Linked DNA regions of Homo sapiens: region 2 is linked to region 1. The links are contacts of gene promoters, found by promoter capture Hi-C in human tissues and cell types (Jung and others, 2019). All regions are on one chromosome and are shown on one strand. The core of a region is centred on a gene start or on the middle of the fragment in contact, and the rest is flanking DNA. Distances in the headings are between cores, read along the strand shown. Region 1 holds the start of TCP10L (t-complex 10 like). Region 2 overlaps EVA1C (eva-1 homolog C).

Evidence for each region. Contacts are between HindIII fragments. The study calls those that stand out against the background at their distance.
Region 2: a fragment that was not itself captured here is called in contact with the fragment with the promoter of TCP10L in region 1 in 2 of the 25 tissues and cell types used here (dorsolateral prefrontal cortex and stomach).

Annotation. Positions count from the first base shown.
Region 1 is chr21:32,583,999-32,587,248 of GRCh38, reverse strand. It overlaps TCP10L (t-complex 10 like), which reads left to right and starts at 1,726. Exons shown (of 5, transcript NM_144659.7): 1 at 1,726-1,828; 2 at 2,944-3,088. The coding sequence starts at 2,945. The region is part of intron 5 of CFAP298-TCP10L (CFAP298-TCP10L readthrough); the gene reads left to right. RefSeq lists a silencer at 1,688-1,887 and an enhancer at 2,969-3,250. The HindIII fragment of the contact is 17,408 bases long and covers 1-3,250 here.
Region 2 is chr21:32,506,074-32,508,892 of GRCh38, reverse strand. The region is part of intron 7 of EVA1C (eva-1 homolog C); the gene reads right to left. Among named protein-coding and RNA genes, the nearest start is that of TCP10L, 78 kb to the left of the region's middle. The HindIII fragment of the contact is 3,428 bases long and covers 1-2,819 here.

The DNA.
Region 1 (3,250 bases), core at 477-2,976:
GAGAGCCGCAGCAGAGACAGGGATGGGGGGACCCTGCCCTGGGAGCCGCCCGGCTGAGGCTCAGGAGGGGAGCTGCAAAGCCTGAAACCTACACAACCTCTCACACACTTCAGGACACACACAACCCCTCACGCACCTCAGGGACTCACACAACCTCTCACACACCTCAGGAAGCTACACAAACTCTCACACACCTCAGAAACCTACACAAACTCTCACACACCCCAGGGACTCACACAACCTCTCACACACCTCAGGACACACACAACCCCTCACATACCTCAGGAACCTACGCAAACTCTCACACACCTCAGGACACACACACAACCTCTCACACACCTCAGGACAAACACCCACTCACACACCCCAGGACCCAAGCACAACCCCTCACACACCTCAGGACACACACACAACCCCTCACACACCTCAGGAACCCATATAAGGAACCCACACACCTCAGGCTCATACACACAAGCCCTCACACACCTCAGGAATCCACACACAACCCCTCACACACCTCAGGGTCTCACACACAATGTTGACACACCTCAGGGTCTCATACACAAACCCTCACACACCTCAGGACCCACACAATTCATCACACTTCTCAGGACACACATAAAACCCCTCACACACCTCAGGGGCCCATACATAACCCCTCACACACCTCAGGACTCACACACAATCCTCTCACACACCTCAGGACTCACACAACCTCTCACACACCTTAGGACCCACACACAACCACTCACACACCTTAGGACCCACACACAACCTCTCACACACCTTAGGACCCACACACAACCACTCACACACCTTAGGACCCACACACAACCTCTCACACACCTCAGGGACCCACACACAACCACTCACACACCTCAGGACCCACACACACCTCATACACCTCAGGGACACACACAACCCCTCACATACCTCAGAAACCTATATAAACTCTCACACACTTCAGGACAAACATACAACCTCTCACGCACCTCAGGACACACACACACACACTCGCACACCTCAGGACACACACACACACTCTCACAGTTAGAATGACACATGGGGACAAAAGTGCCTTCTGTTTCCTCTTTGTAGTATTCTCTTCATTCATTCATGACGTCGGCATTTACTGCCTATTGCATGCGAATCGCTTGCAGAACTATCCAAGTGACACACGTCCCAAGCAGGCTCAGGTGAGCCCCAGGTGTATGTTGTCCACACGCAGCACCATGGATGAGAAGGACAGCCAGGGTTTAACAGGAATATCGACTCTTGCTTGCTCCTCATTCTCTTCTCTATCACAAAAATCACACGGACAATTCAGATGGAGATGCATTTAGTGAAATGATGAAACTTTGAATCCTGTCTCCTATTTAAACTCACATATATTATTTTCCCTTCATAAAAATGTTTTTTCTAGTAAATAATTTGATATCCGAAGAAAGTTTGTATTTCTCCAAGAATGTATGCTCAGAGAAATGAGCTCTTACTACACGTTGCGTATTGAAGACTGGATATAAAACACATGGTTTTTGTCAATTTGGAGGAGTAGTTTGACTCTCTCCAATGTCCTTTGTGGATGGATGGACTCCACTGACGATGAGCTTCTATATTAAGAATTGCAGGTTTGGGGATGTTTAATTATTATCTGAGCTGGTACAGTGGTGACGCTGAGTGAGACGTTCATGTCCCTTTAAGACAGAAAGTCCGTTGGAACTGTCCGCTGCTCTCTGGTCTCTGGATATGAGGCAGGAGGGCTTGGGGACAACTGTGGGGACATGGCCCAGATGATCTGATCCTGGCAGTAGTGACTGTTGGGGACCAGGTGAGGTGACGAGGTCTGGTGGTGGGGCTGAAGGAAAGGGTCTTCCCTGGACTGAGGGGGTCATGAGTTTGGGGCCGAGGACACTGGGGTGTCCCCTCAGAGGAGCAGGAAAGAAGGAGCTTTCTCAGGGCTGTGAGGACCGTGACCCCAGCCCACTTCCGCAGAAACATTCCCAGTCTCCGCGGGGAAGGAATGGCAGTGATCTGGTTACTGGTAGGTCTTGCTCTAGACCTTCGATTCGCTTCCATCAGGAGACTCTCTTTTAAATAGCATTTCTCCGATCACTGTGGTTAAACTGTTCCTTCTCACACAGTTAGAAGTTTATGAATTAAACAGTCGGGGTTTCGTTGGGGGCCACTGGCTTCCTAAAACGGACAGGGCAAGGCAGGGGTGGAGGCAGCTTTCAGAGACGACCCTGCAGGCTTGCAGGAAAGCTTTGCGTTTTTCTCTTTCGTTTTTGTTCTCTAATTGCTGTGAACTTCCTAGAACTGGCATAAATGCTGTACCTATAAAAAGGTGTTTCCTTTCCACATCTTCACCATGAATTCACAAATGTCACCCTGATGGTTCAAGACACATACTCAACACGGTGGAGGGTCTGCCTGTGCCCCTCCAGGTGGGTGCTGATTAAAGGGCTGAGAATTCCCTCGGTGTCTCATGCGACCCTCCACTCACACCTGCTCACACCCTGAGACCATTCCACTCACACCTGCTCATACCCCAAGACCATCGTGCTCACATCCGCTCACATCCATTCACATTCCGCTCATATCCTGCTCACAACCCACTCACATCCCACTCACACCGGCTCACACCCCACTCACACCCCTCTTTGGATGACTGGAGTGTGTTAGGTGTCAGGCTGATCTTCTAGGATCTAAAGCATTTTCCACGGAGGATGGTGGAGAGCCAGGTGTGGACAGCTCAGTCCCTCTGTCTGTGGTGTCCTTTCACCTGGTCAGCTTCGGGCCTGGGAATGTGCACATGACCCAGGGGGAGAAGGAGCGGCTGCGGGTCCTGCTCACCCTTAGTTTGGGGCTGGGGCCTTCAGCCCACACTGACGGGGTAGGAGGGCTGCATTCAAGTGTCCCCATAGCCCTTCCCTTCCCAACCAGGATGCTGGCAGGTCAACTCGAGGCCAGGGACCCCAAAGAGGGCACCCACCCAGAGGACCCGTGCCCAGGAGCTGGGGCTGTCATGGAGAAGACAGCTGTGGCAGCCGAGGTTCTCACGGAGGACTGCAACACTGGGGAGATGCCAGTGAGTTGAGCTCTGTGGGGACAGAGTTAGTCCCACCAGGCGGGACCCTGATTCCTGTCCCTGAGGCCCGTCATTGGACTTTCCCTTGCTGGACCCCTGTAGGAATGCACCACCCCGGGACACTGATTCTGTACTTCCTCTCCAAGGGGCATGTGGCTCTTT
Region 2 (2,819 bases), core at 304-2,803, 78 kb after region 1:
TTGATCAGCTGTTGCATGCCCATGGGAGCCTCTGAAGGGGGACCTATGGCCTTTAAGGCTCCTTTCCACCCTTAGATCCTGACTTGGGGCAAATGCACGCTCCAGCTCATTCGTGTCCAGATAAGACACCCAGAGGCCATGGCGAGCGTTCCCCCTGTTGGGGCCCTATTGCTGTTGAGAGGATCGAGGCAGCAGTCAGGGCCCGAGAGTTGTCCAGAAGAAAGCACAAAGCATACCAAGTGCTGGTCTGACAGCACTTAGGGGTGTGACAGAAACCTTCTATCATGGAACTAGAGATTGGAGACCGTGGGAACACATCCGAATCCATATCTCCGTGACAAGGTGGTGCTGATTTCCAGTGATTCTCCCTGGTGGGGGAATCACATAGCTCTGACTCTGGAGCGTGTTTTTGTGTTTCTCTTTCAGTATAAGCTTATCTGTGGCCCTAGAGTTCCTCCCTTATGAAACAATTATGCCTCCCAAAACAGGACATCCCAGGCTGCAAGCCTGTCCCTTCTGCCCAGCTTCCTTACCCCTGCGCCCCAGAAGCCCACAGCAGGGCCTGCCAGAGGCTGATGACATATCTGTCACTGTCCCAAGGGGGCAGGGGCAGTGACGGAAATATTAGGCCACAAAAGGCATGCCTGCAGGCACATATGAGGTAAACACCCAAAGCCAGATGTCAATGAAACAGTAATTATGTGGAATAGGAGAGGTCATATTCTCATGCAAGACTGTCTAAATACGTAAGTCCCCTTGGGCACAATCTGCCAGGGGACAATGGCTCATGCTGAGCCAGCTATTACACTGCTTTGCTAAGAACTTCCAACACACACTTACACACACAGATACACACGCACATGTGCATGCACACACATGCATGCGTACACACACGCACCCACACACACACATGCAGGCACACATACAGATACACACACACACAAACACACATACAGATACACATACAGGCACACACGCACACACACAGATACACACATGCACAGATACACATGCACACACATGACGGCACACACGCACAAGCATACAGACACATGCACACACATGCAACACACATACATACATGCACACAGAGATACACATATGCACAGAGATACACATACATGCACACACACGCAAACACATATGCACATGCAGATACACGTATGCACACACATGCACACACACGTGCACATACGCATGCACACATGCACACAGATACACATGCATGCACACACAGGCACACCTGCAAACCCATGCACACACAGATACGCATGTACACACATGTACACATAGAAACACACATGCACACACATATACACATGCACACACAAAAACACGCATACATACAGACGCACACATGCACACACAGAGACACATGCACACAGATACAGACACACGCACACAGACGCATACACACATGCACACATGCACACACGCACACGCATAGACACCTATGCACACACACGTGCACACATACACACACATGCACATGCTCACAGACGCACATGCACACATGCACACACACATGCACACACACACACCACTCCTTTTCCATTTCTCTAATTTCCAATGTTTTTCTATGAGCTTCCTTAGAGTCATGATCTTGATTCTAGAATGAATTCGGGGAGTAAGTCTGTATTATTGAAATGACAGTAAATTCAAACATACCTAAGAAGCTTTTTCAATGTTGGGGAAACCATCTCACAGATCATTCAGATGACCCCAGGAGATGCTTCACCAGGGACCCTTGGACATCCTCCTGTCCCTTCTGCCAACCTCTGTGCTTTAATATCAGGGGACAAACCTCTCGATTTTGGTTTCTCTTCTCCTTGTCCCCATGTACACTGGACTGCACTACTGTGTCAAAGCTACTTGCAGCCTGACCTGGGAAATGTACTTTTGGATTCACTCCATTTGCCGCCTATTTGGGTGGTTTGGGCTGGAAACTGCCCTGCTCACACTCTTGGCTCCCAGCTGCTCCTGCTTTGGGGGTGCCTAGAGACCCCAGCTCATCCCGTGGGTCACATCCCCACAGTGGGGCCGGGGATGCGACTGAGAGTTGTCTGGGCACCTCTCTCCAGCAGCAGTGAGGATGGAGCTCAGCACTGTGTGACATTGGCTGGTGGCCACTGCCTGTTTGGGTCGAAATGACCCAGCCTGATGTCCACATGCACCTCTGTGGCACACTGGCCTGCAGACCCCTGAGCATGCACTGCATGCTTCCCACCTCTAGAGTGGCCACCCAGACAGCGACATAGACACACCAAGAAAACCCACAGGCAAGCCCAGAGGCACCTGTTCTACTAGGGCTTTGTGAGCCTCTGTGATTTGAGTCACGAGCTTCTTGTGGTGATTTCATTTAGCTAACATCCAACACAGTGCATTTAGAGACTCTTTCTCTTGGACATTATATGGAGGCGTGGTCATGGTTTGCTAAGATAAATGTCACCAAACACCCCTCAATAAAATCAAATAACAGCTCATCAAGTCCTTACATTTTAAAAAAATGGACATCTTATAAATAGCAAATATTGGATGACAATAAAGCACAGGAAAAAGCTCATAAGCCCATATCAGCAGTCATCATTCAGTTGTTCCTTAACTACTGACTGTGCACCTGTTCTGTACCAGCACCGCATCCTAGATACAGGGATACCACACAAAATAAGATGACAAGGCACCTGACCCTGTGGAGCTGAGCCACTAGCAGGAGAGATAGTCACTAAACGAATATCTCTATCCTGTGGTTTCTGGGAATGACAATCACATAAAAGGATAGAAAGAGATGGAGGAAAGCTAATTTAGACAACTCAGGATCA